Linked DNA regions of Homo sapiens: region 2 is linked to region 1. Evidence: promoter capture Hi-C in human tissues and cell types (Jung and others, 2019). All regions are on one chromosome and are shown on one strand. The core of a region is centred on a gene start or on the middle of the fragment in contact, and the rest is flanking DNA. Distances in the headings are between cores, read along the strand shown.

The links. Contacts are between HindIII fragments. The study calls those that stand out against the background at their distance.
Region 2: a contact is called between a fragment that was not itself captured here and the fragment with the promoter of RDH14 in region 1, in 1 of the 25 tissues and cell types used here (mesenchymal stem cells).

What each region holds. Positions count from the first base shown.
Region 1 is chr2:18,555,099-18,562,741 of GRCh38, forward strand. RDH14 (retinol dehydrogenase 14) reads right to left here and starts at 5,555. Exons shown (of 2, transcript NM_020905.4): 1 at 5,082-5,555; 2 at 1-710. The coding sequence starts at 5,474. The coding sequence ends at 93. It overlaps NT5C1B-RDH14 (NT5C1B-RDH14 readthrough), which reads right to left. Exons shown (of 11, transcript NM_001199104.2): 11 at 1-710. The coding sequence ends at 686. LOC105373456 (a long non-coding RNA gene) reads left to right here and starts at 5,078. Exons shown (of 6, transcript XR_007086234.1): 1 at 5,078-5,593. RefSeq lists enhancers at 4,715-4,764, 5,575-5,624, 5,685-5,734, 5,745-5,964 and a silencer at 4,975-5,484. The HindIII fragment of the contact is 6,430 bases long and covers 935-7,364 here.
Region 2 is chr2:19,595,559-19,603,201 of GRCh38, forward strand. LOC105373459 (a long non-coding RNA gene) reads right to left here. Exons shown (of 4, transcript XR_939780.2): 2 at 6,213-6,323. Among named protein-coding and RNA genes, the nearest start is that of LINC01808, 130 kb to the left of the region's middle. The HindIII fragment of the contact is 6,100 bases long and covers 1,837-7,643 here.

The DNA of each region.
Region 1 (7,643 bases), core at 4,305-6,804:
TTCTTCAAGTAACAAGTTCTCAATCCACACCATTCCTGATCACAGATATAACTGATATGCAGTTTTATAAACAGCTCTTTTACTCCTTGTTCCTATTTTAGCAGGCCAACCATCACTTCACTGATATCCCAGAGTTTTCTTGCAACAGATTCATCCATAGCTTTGGGCAACAGTTCTTCCTCTTTACAATCCCCAAAGTATCTTCCTGACACTCCTTCTACCTCAGGTGAAGAGGCCAAATAAATGGAAGTCTGGGCACCTTCTACTGGAGTTTTGAAAAAAGCCCATGACACCAAATTGAAGAGTGGTTTGACCAACAGTGGAATGTGTATGTGCCTCCCCAGATTTGTCCGTACAATACCAGGATGCAACACATTGACGGTGACATTTGTGCCTTCTAAGCGGCGGGCTAGTTCCCTGGTAAAAAGAATGTTAGCCAGTTTGCTCCGGCTATAACAAAAGCTTTTATTATAGCTTTGTTCACTGTTCAAGTCATCAAAATTGATGTCTCCGTATTTATAAAGTTTGGAAGAAACTACCACAATCCTGCTGGGAGCTGAACTTTTGAGGAGTCCAAGGAGAAGATTGGTGAGTAGAAAGTGCCCCAGATGGTTCACTCCGAACTGCATCTCAAACCCATCTTCAGTCTTCATGTAAGGGCACTGGAAGATCCCTGCGTTATTGATCAAGACATCCAGCCTAGGCTCTTCCTTTAAATGTCAAAAAGAGAATGGCAGAATTATTAAGAACACACGCCTTGTATTGCTTTTTCTGTTCATGATAATTACATTTTAATAAAAATGGGCACTTGAGACTAAAAGCATTTAATTTCAGTTGTTGGTCTATCGATCAGAGAACTACTTGAAACACTGGCAATTTTGTGTTTAATAAATGGGGAAAGGGATTCCTCCGCAGGATGTTCCTCAGATAAATACTGATGTTCATGATCTTTCATTCAACAGCTCTTTTTTCTCATTTATTAAAATGATATACAGAAAGATATTTATCTACAGTCATCTTCCAATAAAAGATGTAGAAACTAAATCTAAGACTTAATTTCTGGTTTTATGCTTTTATAACAATAACATTTACAAATATATAAACTTTAACATTGCATTAGAAAGTTGACTACGTGATCAGTACCAAGATCTTTCTCAAAACAGAAATACAGTCAATTTGAGGACAAGGCACTCCTACAATCCCATATTTCTCCCTTTAATTTCAGTTGAACTAGGAAAATATCAATTTGGGAGTTATCAGGTTAATACTGAGATCATATCAAAATTATAAGTGTACCTATGATAAAATGTTTAAAAATACTTGCAAACTACTAAAATTCTATCCCAAAATGCTTCTATGAGCTTCCAATAATTGAGAGAAAAATAGAAAAAAAAATAGATGCAGAAGCTTGATAGGAGCCAGGCTTTGTGCTTTTCGCATGTCACCACATCTAATTCCAACAACTGTATAAGCAAATGAAGCTCACAGGCTAGGTGACTTGCCCAGTATCAGAACTCCTAAGTAGCAAAATAAGATCAGATCTGAAGATGAAGTCTTTGACACCAAGGCCTATTTTCTTAATTAGTAAGCTGGCATGGCTTTCTAATTGGGATTTTCAAAACAGCTAGAGAGGCAATGAAAGCTAGACAGACCATATGCTGTAGAAAACAGGTAAGCATAGTTTATTCCCAGAGCTACTGGTTATCAACACCAAGGGCAAACTTATGGTTGCTTTATTCTGTAGTTCTCTCAGGGTAAATGGCACCATGGGGGTGGAACAACTTCAAGTCATTTCCTTAAAAGTGAAACAAGCAATAGAAAAGGTCAGAAATGCAAACTTAACACTGGAGAGAACATCATGAATAAATCGAGATTCATAAAGAATAATCAAAGATTAAGAAAAAAATAATCAGGTAATATAAAAATATCCAGCGTAAAGGGGACTCTAGGAGATCTGTACAGTCAACATTTTATACTCTGAACTTATGCTTCTGTATCTTTCCAAATTAAAGTCCTAAAATTTAGACTGTTCTCATAGGGAAGTCTTTTTATTCCTTAAATCATGTAAGATGGTCTTCTCTAGCCTTTTCTCGGTTGTTCTGTTTCTTTTGATGGACAAAGAAATGCACATGTTCCAAGTGTAAAGACACTGTGATGACCCATGATTAATATGAGGTCAACTTTCAAATTTCACTGGCCCTTCTGCCAACTATAAGTGAAAAGAAAAATGTGTTACATTTCACAACTGTTATCGAAGCCCACCTGTCAGAGGATTAACTATTTCTCATTCTGCCCTGTCTAAGCATCTTTGGGTTTTCCAATAGTCAACTTCAAAAAGAAGGCAAGAGTTCACTCATGGGGGAAAGAAAGGAGTATTCTTTTTCACAAATCCTTTGGAAGATTTTCCTGAATTAATCATTTGTTATCCAGCATTCTTTGCTGGGCTTGTGTTATTTTAAAATTTTGTCATTTACTATTTTTTTAAATTCTACGAGATAAATGAAATAAATACCAAGAATACCAACCTGTGGGAAATCTACATTTCCATTTTTTTTTCCTTCTAATTATAGTCACTTAACTTCAGAGCCAGGCAGGAACAGAAATACTTACTTAGAAGCAAGGACAACTTAATTATCTCTTTGTGTCCTCACTTTTTAATTAGTTCTGCCTCAAGTGCCAAAGAAGCAAACCCAGCCCCATCTATATTTTAAAGAGGAACAGAAAGATCCATCTTTAATGCTTCCAAAATCTCACTGATGAGTATTATTTCTTAACCTGTGTTACACATAATTAAATACTAGCAATAAACAAAAAACCAACTCTCTAGTTCTGCAACAGCTCCCGAACTGTGGCCTACAGCATTGCAGCAAACTCTCAGGGTGTTGTGGAATATTTTAAATTTTCGAGGGAAACACAGTGATATTTGCTCAATACCTCAAAACTACTAGCTCCAGGTGGTTCACAGCTTGAACATTACATTGTGCTATATTCCTTTCAATGACATTATTTCTTTGTGGAGCTGACTTTTAAGCAGCTGTTAGCAGTTGCTGTAATAAAAAACAAGAACAATGCTAAAAATCTACCTAGAACAGGAAATGAGGGTGGAAGTGTCCAATCTGATTCCAAGGTTTCAGACACTGGTGTAATGACCAACAGAGATACATTTCCCATTAGTAGTTATGGCTGTTTAAGAACAAAATAAACATATTATTTTTTTCTTTCAATTATGTTATCTTCTCAAATAGCTACTAAGTTGTTAGGACATAACTACTTATTAGGTTGTGTCAAAGGAAAATAAATCTCAGAACCCAAAATCACTAAGTCAAAGGTTAAAGTCAAGCTGGGAACTGCCTCAGACAAACCTGCCTCCCATTTTATTCCTAAATAAGATAGCTACAAAGAAAAAGAAGCTACATATCACCCTCATAATTTGCCCACATGGGCCTCAAGATCTTTACCCTAAAACACTTCTGTTGAATTTCACCCTGGCAATGTATTCATAAATTGATAGCTCATCTTCACAAGTGCCAAACAAAAGACAGAACTCTAAAGTCATCCTTCTGCTCACCTGAGATAAATGCTTATCTGATTGCTGACTCTGCCGTATTGTTTATGTGAAAATGCAGACTCACTGAGCCAGTCTAAGACATAAGTGATTATTCCTCTATCCCTCCTGCACATGTAAATTGTATTCAGTAAAAGGCTAATCAAAGACCCAAAAGAATGCAACCTTTTGTCTCCCATCTACCTATGACCTGGAAGCCCCCACTTCGAGTTGTCCCACTTTTCCAGGAGAACCAATGTATACCTTACATATGTGATTGATGTCTCATGTCTCCCTAAAATGTATAAAACCAAGCTGTGCCCCGACCACCTTGGGCACATGTCCTCAGGACCGCCTGAGGTTCTGCCACGGGTGCATCCTTAACCTTGGCAAAATAAACTTTCTAAATAAATGAACTGGGAAATATTTCTGGCCTAAGGGCATCATGAAAAAATTACTGAGAAAATTTGGGAACCTCTTCTCTAGACTCAAGAGACTCTACGTCATATAGGCACCTTTCTTGTCCCAGCTAATTTTAAATTTCACTCTTCTGAACAAATGCCCTCTGAATGCCAGTTATCCCTGCAAGAAACTCTTCTACCTCAATCTCAACGGAGAACATCCACTTATGTGGAATTACTTACCATTTGCACAAAGAAATCCTCACACCTCACTGCCAGGCAGCAGGAGGAAAGAACAAGGGTTAAAAGCAAGTGTTCTGGAGACAGACCACAAGCAAGTTTCTTAGCCTTCCTATGCCTCAGTTTCCTCGCGTTGTAAAACAGGGATGATAATAATGCCTACTCCACAGGGTTACTGTGTAGCTTCAATGACAGTTATAGGCAAGGACACTTCATTTTCATTTAAGACAAAAAGGAAAATCTGAAATGCTTGGCACAGCTCCTGGCATACAGATCTTCAATAATGCTGGGTGTTATTTTTATTCCTGTCTCTGTATGGAGCATGACCACTGGGTTCCAAAATGTATTCTACTTGGAAATCAGGCCACAGTCCCGTTAAGGATGGTGCTGAGTTTACTGGTGGCAGCGAGCTCCTTACCCCAGCAGAAAAGGGGCAGAGGCCGGGGGAAGGAGAACTTTTTTTAAAGGACTGATATGAGGTCCTTAGCTAGCAACTTCCCCCAGTGCTCAGGGGTTCTGAAGACACAGCTTGGTGCAAATTCACTTCTGACACAGGAAAAACAATTCAGAGGCCATGGATCTACTTCGGGGCGGTCCTCACGTAACGAAATGAAACGTTCAGAAACTGGTTTATTTATTTTTCTCTTGGGCCCATTTCTTTTTCGACATCCTTAGAGGACAGAAGGCAGCCCTCCCAGTTAGTTTCTCTTTCCCTCTCAACCCTGCAGCTTCCCGGCCGCCTCAAAGTGGCTTTTTGGACTCCTCTCAGCCTCAGCGGTTCCCAAGGTGACACCCTGAACCCCAGGGCGGTCCCTCGCGGCTCAGCCCCAGCCCGCAGTCCCCTCCCACACCGTGCCCAGGCCCTCCCCACCAGCCCGGCCCCCCGAGGCCCACACCTGGAGCATTTCCTGGCAGAAGGCGCGCACCGAGCGCAGCGAGGCGAGGTCCAGCTCCCGGACTATGAGCTCGCCCACCCCGCTGACGCCAGGCTCTGGGCCGCACTCCGCGGCCTGGCGGAGCTCGCGGCGGAGCTGACCCGCCGCCTCCTCGGCGCGCGCGCGGTCCCGGCAGCCCATGATCACCCGCGCTCCCAGGCGCAGTAGCTCGGCGGCCGTGGCGCGGCCCAGGCCGCTGTTCGCCCCGGTGATCAGCACAGTCTTCCCGTGCATGAGGCCGGGGTCCCCGCCTCTGCGCAGCCGCTGGACCCTGGGCCCCACGAACCGGCGGGCCGCCAGCCACAGCGCCCCGCCCAGAGCGGCCAGTACTGCCGCCGCAGTGGCCACTGCCATCGTCAGGCCCGAGGGCCCACCGGCCCCTCCACGGGAGTTCCGCAGCCGCCGCCTTACCGGAACCCAAGAGACCACCTGTACGCGGAGAACGCTGGGGCGCGGCGGGTCGGCCCCTGACGGTGCGCGTGGGGCATGCTGGGACTTGTAGTTTCCCTCTGGGGGGGTCGCCTGATTGGTTGTGAGAGTTCAGCGCCCTGGGTCCTGCGCCCTCCGTGGAAGCTCCTCCCAGCCTAATGATGGAGGCTGGGCAACCAGCACAGTGTTCAGGGTGCTGGGGTTCATACGTATTGAAATCCCAGAGTAGTGGCGGACTTCCCCATGGGAATGTCTGATGAGTACTTTGAATCACAGATCTCTGTACAGGCCCTGTTACAAATGCCACTCCTCAGGGCATTTCGTGTGTTTTCCTTTGAGGGCTCTTGGGACTTGTAAATTCAGTTCAATTCACCTTCTGAGGAATGGGCCCTGACAAGCTGAAGTCTGAGGTAGGACTGTTTTTCATAGATGAGACAAAGAATTAAGCAACATGAATCAGTTGGAAATAGAATGGTCGAGTAGTTCTCAAACTTAAATGCACATCAGAATCACCTGGAGGACTTGGGGTGGGGGTTCGGGGTGGGGGAATGAAACAAAACGAAAACAAAAAACCAGGGCCCCAGTATTAGAGTTTCTAATTCAATAGGTACAGGATGGGGCCTGATAATTTGCACTTTTAACAAGTTTCCAGGTGCTGCTGCTGCTGCAGATCTGGGAACCACACTTTGAGAACCACTGAACAAGACATTATGTCATTGGTCCCTATTAAAAAAAAGAAAGCCATCTTCAAATGATCTTCACACTGGCAGAGGTACAGTGGGAAAAGCTTGGACTTATTGTAAATATAGGCTTCTGAGCAGGCCATTTACAAATGCCTCCCTGCCCTCTCCATAGGACTATTACACACAACGATGGAAGGCAAAGTGCTTGGCTCACTGTAAAATGCCTCATTAATATCAGGGTTAGTGTCACAGGGACCCTTCTTCAAGCTACAAACTTCATAGCTGTAGACCAAGCTACTTTTAAAGACTCATTCGTTCGTCTGCCTCTCCATCCAATATGTGCCTGGCCCTGCCTGTTCCCTGTTAGAGCCACAGAGAAATGGGACACCATTTCTGCTCTCAGGGTGCTTACTTTCTGGAACTGTGATCTCCCACTTCCCACCCTCCACCCATTGCAGGTTCTCCAGACAAGGAAAAAGAACCACAGCTTGTGTCGTTTGAGACAAACTCCCCAATAATTGTGATAATCCATCTTCCACTCCCTTACATTTGGGAAGGATGTAACATGCAACTAATAGTCAGAATACAAAGAAAAAGGGATGGATTCCAGGAGGTTTCTTATGAGTAATGAGAATGGAGCTCAGAGGTGGGAAAGAGCACTCTTACTGGGGATTATACAAGGCACCAGGAACAGGAATCATGAGAGGTGGTCCTACACCACCCTATCCCCAATTTGAAGCTGCTACTCAAACTCATTGATCCCCCAGCATATGTTTCCACTTTATTGTCCTTTCTACCCATCCACATCTTGCCCATCCATCAAAATCACAGGCTACCTCAAGTCTTTCTTTCCTGACCACTTCCAGCCTATAAAGATCTCTGCTCCCTTCATGTGTGACCCTCAGGGTCATGTGTGACCCTCACTGGCACTGAAGACAAACAGCCTTCTAGTATTGGCTGTTTGAGTTTGCACATTTGACTTCCTTGACCAGATTGTTAAGGTTTCAAGTTTCCTAGAGGATAGGATTGTGTCTGCGTACCTCTTGTGGTCTTTGCATGGGAGGACACCTACAAAATGGTAGGTACTCAGTGTCACATGTCACAACTGATATATTTTGGACTGGTTTACATAAAATTAGGGAGCATCAGAAGATGTGTTTCAGCTGTGGTCTTCTCTCATCTAGAGCCAGGGGTGGAATACATATGTACAGGTGGAGTAGAGATGAAGGTGGAGGTAGAGAGAGCAGGAGAGGGTAGGAGGAAAAGAGGAGGGAGGAATCCTTAGACCTGCAGTGTAACTGCTGTGTAGTTTATGCATGGAACTTAATGAAATGATTAATCTGTACCAGATGGGTCCAAAGGCCATGAAATTAATAACTCTATTTGGAAGGGAGGAAAGAGACCTCATTAT
Region 2 (7,643 bases), core at 3,637-6,136, 1.0 Mb after region 1:
TAGAAAAAAGCCGGCGGGAGAAGATGGAAGAAGCTGACTTGCTGAGTCTTCTGGACTTTGTCTTTCTCCCACACTGGATGCTTCCTGCCCTTGAAAATCAGACTCCAAGTTCTTCAGCTTTTGGACTCTTGGACTTACACCAGTGATTTGCCAGGAGATCCTGGGCCTTCAGCCACAGACTGAAGGCTATGCTGTCGGCTTCCCTACTTCTGAGGTTTTGGGACTCAAACTGGTTTCCTTGTTCCTCAGCTTGCAGAAGACCTATTGTGGGACTTCACCTTGTGATCATGTGAGTCAATACTCCTTAATAAACTCCCCTTCATACATATATCTATCCAATTAGTTCTGTCCCTCTAGAGAACCCTGACTAATATAGTGCTTATCAAAAGATCAATTAGTTAATTGACCACAGACTTAAATACCTTCCATTGGCTCTTAGAATCCTAGATCTGTAGACAGTTGGGGCTGCAAAATCTAAGAAGAATCATGTACCCCCTACTGTTCATTCTGTGATAAGAACTCTGTGGCCTACATGGAGGTCACAGAGCCAGAAAATAGTAGCCTTGAGAACAAACCAGGTATGACTGACTCCAAACAAAGCACATACTGCACCATCTTAATTTTTAAAGTTCATTGCAAGCATGTTTATTTTACAAGCAAAAGAAAGCTAATATGAAGACTTCATAATTCCAAACCTCTTTAACTAATTCAGTGTCAATTCTAAAATAATTCCTTACAAATGTACTGCCTGATTTAGAACCAAGATGTCCTCATGTTTAATAAACTAGCATGCATGTGTGTGAAAGGGATCTTAAATTTGGCATCTCTTTCCAGGCTTTTTTCAGTTCAGTATTTTCTGAATTCCTACCATGTGACACTGTGTGAGGTGCTGATATCTGTACTAAATGCTAGTAAAGCCCAAGCTTGAATGAACACCTGAACATCACTGTGTTTAGGAAGATAGAAAGGGTGGGTTCAAATCTTGGCTCCACCACATATTAGCTATGTGATCTTAAACAAGTTACTTAACCATGCCTCAGTTTCCTCATCTGTAAAAGGTGAATAGAAATTATTCCTACCTCATAGAGTTGTTGGGAGAGTTAAATAAGGTAATACTTATTGTAAACAAGTGCTTGTAAATGCTCAGAAATATTTTTATTGCCTTTTTTCTCCTGGGCTAACCATTTCACTTTGAATTCTTGGGTCATGAATTAACAAAAGGCAAAGATCCCAACCACCTACTTGCAGGGACTGGTCTCCTAATAACCATACCCCAAAGGCTACATAGTTAGTCTTTTATGTAACAGTGCAACCCTGGAAGGACTCAGGACTCCAGCCAGGAAAGTCTTAAGGCTAGAAGCACTGAGGAGCACAGCAATCTCTTGGCTGTCTATGATTACGTGGCATCCTTCGATTTAAAATCCTAAGAAAAGGGTGAGCTTGGATTCAGGGGTGCACCCCAAAGCATTCCACAGGCTGGATGCCACAGAGAAGAAAGCAGTTCCACTCAGGGTCAGACCCGGAAAGAATAGCTCCCTTTATTCTCAAACACAATGAATTTCTAATATGATGGACAGATTAATATTATTAACTTTGGCAAATCCACAGCCCTCCAACCCCTTGAGGGTAGAGAAGTGACTTGTTGATTTGGAAAGTCTCCAAAAATAATTTCACGCGAGAAATATTTCTCTTGGATAGTCCCTACAGAGGAAGTGTGCTAAATTAGAAACTGTAACCTGGAGGTATCGTGTAACGACACTGATGCTCTTGTTGGTTGAAAGGTTAGGAAGGCATGCCATGTCCCAAAACATGGACTTGCTCAGGACACCAAAGCAAGGGGTAATGAAATTTCCAAATTTTGATCCTGGAGAGACTATGGCTTGAGTACGAAGAGCCAAAGGCAATTACAGACCACACTAACCTGGATGAGAAGCAAGACTTAAATTGTGAGGAATTTCACCCACACAACTGTGGCAGGGGAGAGGAGATAAAGAACCTCTGTGTGTGTTAAAAAGGAGAGGTTTCAAGGAAAATGGGAAGGAGCTCTGAGCTCTATGGGATAAAATCTCAGGGGCTTCCCTTAAAGGAAAACCACTTATGGGTTTATACCACACAGGGGGACCAGAAGACAGACCTGAGCCCACTTGCTGAGAAAATTCAGACCTTCAGTATAACTAACCAAAGTTGGAATGAGCGATCTGTCCTACTCGGAAGCAGCTACTCATCTTGAACAAACTCTGAAGGGCCTGAGAGTTCAGGAAATATAAGAACTAAGAGACGGGACGCACCCAAGAGATCACCTTATTTATCTCCTGACAGTTAGGTTGTTCTGTCCAGTCCTCCCTCCAGTGTTTGATCTCCCTCCTTGCTAAGAGTCCCCAGTCCCCTGGAGACACATGCTGTCAGGAAGTATTTCATGATTTCTATCCTATTTTCTTTTCCTTTGAGTTTGAACACCACAGGTCTTGTTTAATGAGGCCAGGTTTTTCGTGGAAGTTTTGGGATTGAACCAAGGAAGAGAGGATCAGGAACAGTCAGAAAGCTGTGCACATTTTCAACAACTACCGACAGCAGTGAGTGCTTGGGAAGCAGTGAGATCATAGGCTGGGAAGATGGGAAATCATCAGGAATCCCGGGCTGATGAAACTTTAGAGGTCTTTGGAAAGCTCCCCTGATTATCACCTCCTCTTCTCTCTCTCCTAATTTACCTCCAGGAACTACAGACCTTTATCTCACAGTGAGAGCCAAAGCTTCAAAAGGGTGATTAGTACTGTTGCCAAAGGAGGAACAGTCAATATCAGCTCTTTTCCAAACCCAGTCCTTGATAGAAATGCTCTCTGTAAACTCAGATGAAGAGATGACATCTGTTCTGATTATTGTGATATAGCCCACTGCAGAGCACAAAGCACATAGTAGATCTTTAATAAGTATGTGTCCAGTTGAGTGGCATCAGACATCTAAAGCAGCAGGAAGCACTTCACAAATCAAGTTATAGAAAGCAACTAGCCAACATGTATGGCTGAAGCTTTTAAGGAGAACTTTGTCAGCTTCTCATTTTAATTGCCCCAAATGACCCTACTGAAAGGTGTCCTTGTTTATCATTTTGAGGAAGACACCTACAATGCAACTGCCTGCCTGGCCTGTGGATGTTGCAAAGATCAATGTGAACCCATCATCTCTAAGGCAGGGTGGGATTAGCCCAGGAAACAAACTGCGCTGCCACTAACTAACTTTAAAACCCTGTTCATTTGTGCCTTAGTTTCTCCATTGGTAAAATGGGGATAATTGTATTTAGCTTACAGAGCCATTGTGAGATTAACTGCTTAGACACATGCCTGTTTAACAGTAAGTGCTAAATAAATGTTAGCTCTCATATTTCCCCTTTCTCCTGTTCCCAAAACTGCCTCTTTCCTGTGTTCCTCATGTCACCATCCACCCAAGCACAAATCCAGAAAACCCAGTCTCATTCTATTAATAACCCCGTCCAGCTCACTCTCTGTTACCAACCCCCGGGCCCCAATCAGTCTCCAGTCTTCTAAAGTCTATGTATTAATATCTCTTGCCATCCTTTATTCACTGGCTCTGTCTTAGCTCAGGCCCCAGGCTTTTCTTGCTGGATTATGTGATATGATATTATCCTCTGGGTTCCTCCCTGTCCTCCTTCAACCCGTCTTCCACAGTGCTTCTAGAGTAATCTTTCTAAGCTAAGGATCCAATCATGTCATTCTCTTCTTAAATCCATCAGCAGTTTCCACTCAATATAACTTCTGTTTTTCCCTCAAAACTCAGTGAAACTCAATAGCCAAACTGTGGAAATAAGCTAAGTATCCACTGATGGATAAATGGATAAAGGAGATGTGGTGTGTGTGTGTGTGTGTGTGTGTGTGTGTGTGGTGTGTGTGCACAATGGGATAATATTCCAACTTAAAAAAAGAAGGAAATTCTGTCATTTGTGACCACAGGGATAAAACAAAAGATATACTAAGTGAAATAAAACACAGAAAGACAAATACTGCACTATTGCTGCAACATCTTAAAAAGTCAAACTCATAGGAACAGAGAGTTGAACAATGGTTACTGGGGGTTAAAGGGTGGGCAAAATGGGGAGATGTTGGTTAAAGGTTATAAACTTTTAGTTATAAGATGAATAAGTTCTGGATGCCTAATGTACAACATGGTGACTATAGCTAATAAGGTATTCTTTACTTAAAATTTGCTAAGAAACTAGATCTTAAGTATTCTCACCATACAGACACACACACACAAATGGTAGCTATATGAGATGAGAGACATGTTAATTAGCTTGATTGTGGAGATCATTTCACAATATGTGTGTGTGTGTGTGTGTATATATATATATATATATATATCTCAAAGTATTATGCTGTATACCCTGAATATGCAGTGTAAGACTTTTATTTGTCAATTATACCTCAATAAAGCTGAAAAAAACTTACTGAAACTATTTTCACTGCCCCCAAGCTGATTCACACACTCTGTTCTTGATAATACCCAGCACACAGCTGTATTATAGCTCTTGAGACACTATTCTCTGTCTTTCTCACTAAGTTATCAGCTCCCTAACAACAGCACCATCTTTTACTTGAATTCTCTAATGCTCATAGATGTTTGCTGGATGGACAGAATGATGGATGGATGGCAAAACATTGCTGGATGGACAGAATGACGGATGGATGGCAAAACAGAAGAGACTCCTCAAAACACTTGTCAGACCAACGAGGAAGGGATCAAAGCCAAGATTTTCCAGCAGCCAAAATAATAAAGATCATGGAGCCTATAGGAAAAAAATTGCTTTGCTAGAATCATCTCCCATATGGGGGCATGTGAACATTGAGGAAAAACTCTCAGGGTTGGTTTCAAATAGGAGACCTTGGCAAAAACGATTTCAACAAATAACACAAATGGAAGCAAAACTGGGGAAGAGACCCAAACTATTGTTATTAATTACTCTGTCACTTTAATTCATTATATTCTAGCACAAGCCAAGCTAATTAGATCTTATTTTGCAAACAAAATTTTCATGGCCTGCTACATAAAATTCTTCTCTAATAGGTAGCATCTGCTGCATTTATTTCATCCATTAATTTTGCAACCTTCTCCAAAACAAACATTAGGCTCATGTGATGTGATTCAGACAGTAGAAATGAGCTATGCAGCCAGGGGGTGCACATGCAATCTTGGTCCCCAAGTCAGCCACCCTTCCTGGATGTACCTTCCCAAAGAGTCTATCTGGATGGGTGCTGGCCAGCTAGCCCAGTCCCCTGTAGGCTGTGCCCACAGAGAAGAGAGAAGCCCAGTTATCCTCCAAGAGAGCCTGCATTCAGAACTCATCCATGTCCTGCAATCTGAGATGAATTCTGGTGTTAGGTGTGAGGGCTTTAAATACAACAAAAGCCTAGAGAGGGGAGAGGAACCTACGGGCTGTTCTAATCAGAGGAAACTTCATGGATCAGAAAAAACTGGAATAGGGCCTTGGAATATGATTGTATCAGAACAGAAAGGAGACTCTTCCAGTGTGGACCTACAGTAAAATCAAGGGACAATGCACTGTGCCTTCCTCCCATCAGAGGGCAAAGAAGTAGGTACAAATTTGCAAGGTAAATAATGTGGCAAGAACTCTCTGAGTACACTTGGCATGCCCAGCTCTGTGCTGATCAAGAGATTCAAAGAAGCAGACAGCATGGTCTGTGGCCTTGGCAAAGAGATGACTTTCATATATAAAGTAAAAATGCCAAACGGATCAAACTCCCATAAGGGCCTTACCATGGGTCTCACCCAGCCTTGTCTCCTCCCAGGTTTCCAGCAGACTCTGCTGGAAAGCACAGAAGCTTTGGCTTTGCATCTGCTCAACCCATCTCCAGCCTTGATCTTTCTCATGATGAATGTGGATGGCTGATGCCCCCTTGGGGGCCTGCCAGCCCTCGTTTCTTCTCCCAGTGACCAGTGTTTTCCTTGGTGAAAGACCTTGAGAAGGTGGATGAATGAGGCGAGCATGTGCTCTGCCTCTGTGGAACTCACATCCCAGTGTTCGCTCATGAGCTAGAAATCAGCAATGCAGCAGGCACCAGAAGGACTACTCTCCTAATCCAATCTATGCTTTGGAGCCTACTCCCACTCCATTGCATGTACTGGGAATCATTTTCTTCTATATCTGCACACACACACACGTACACACACACACACACACATACCTGGAAACCTCTCTTCATCCTTTGATCTGTTTGTCTGTCTTATCCACTTAAATGAAAACTCTATGAAAGCAGGAACAACATTGGTTGTGTTTACCATTATACAATCAGGTCCTAGAAGAGTATTGAATACATATCAATACATATCTATAAATGAATGAATGGAGACATAAGAGTATATCTTCTGGCCTGAAGGCAGAAAAGTGTGTGAAATATGAAATAACTGTCAGAAGGCCCCTGTGAATGGAGTAGAGGAAAAAGCCCCATAAAAGGCAGGACAATTTTCTCACCACCAACACTGTACCTCTGTTCACAGCTGAAGCCGGTATGGCCAATTGCCCCTTTTACTTTTTTCCAGGTCTATTGAGGTATAATTGACAAAAACTGTATATATTTAAGATGTACAACATGATGTGATATACACATATATTGTAAAATAACTGTCCTAATCAAGCTGATTAACGTATCTATCACCTCACAGAGTTACCATTTTGTGTGCGTGTGTGGTAAGAACACTTAAGATCTGCTCTTTTAAAATGCAAATCAAAGCCACAATGAGATATCATCACATACTAGTAAGAATGGCTATGATTAAAAAGTCAAAAAATAACAGATGCTGGTAAGGTTTCAGAGGAAAAGGAACATTTATACACTGCTGGTGGGAATATAAATTAGTTCAGCCATTGTGGAAAGCAGTGTGGTGATTTCTCAAAGGACTTAAAACAGAATTACCATTCAACCCAGCAATCTCATTACTGGGTATACACCAAAATGAATATAAATTATTCTACCATAGGGATGAGTGCGGTGGCTCGTGCCTGTAATCCCAGCACTTTGGGAGGCCAAAGCCGGTGGATTACCTGAGGCCAGGAGTCCAAGATAGCCTGGCCAACATGGCAAAACCCTATCTCTACTAAAAATACAAAAACATTAGCTGGGCATGGTGGCGTGTGCCTATAGTCCCAGCTACTTGGGAGGCTGAGGCAGGAGGATCAGTTGAACCCAGGAGGCAGAGGTTGCAGTGAGCCAAGACTGCACCACTGCACTCTAGCCTGGGCAACAGATTAAGACTCCGTCTCAAAAAAAAAATACATTCTACCATAAAGACACATGCATGAATATGTTCATTGCAGCACTATTCACAGTAGCAAAGACATAGAATCAACCTAAATGCCCATTAATGATAGATTGGATAAAGAAAATGTAGTACATATACACCATAGAATACTATACAGCCATAAAAAGGAATGAGATCATGTCCTTTGCAGGGATATGGATGGAGCTAGACACCATTATCTTAAGTGAACTAACACAGGACAGAGAACCAAATACCACATGTTCTCATTTATAAGTGGGAACCAAACATTGAGAACATGTGAACCCAAAGAAAGGAACAAGAAAGGCCAGGTGCAATGGCTCATGCCTGTAATCCCA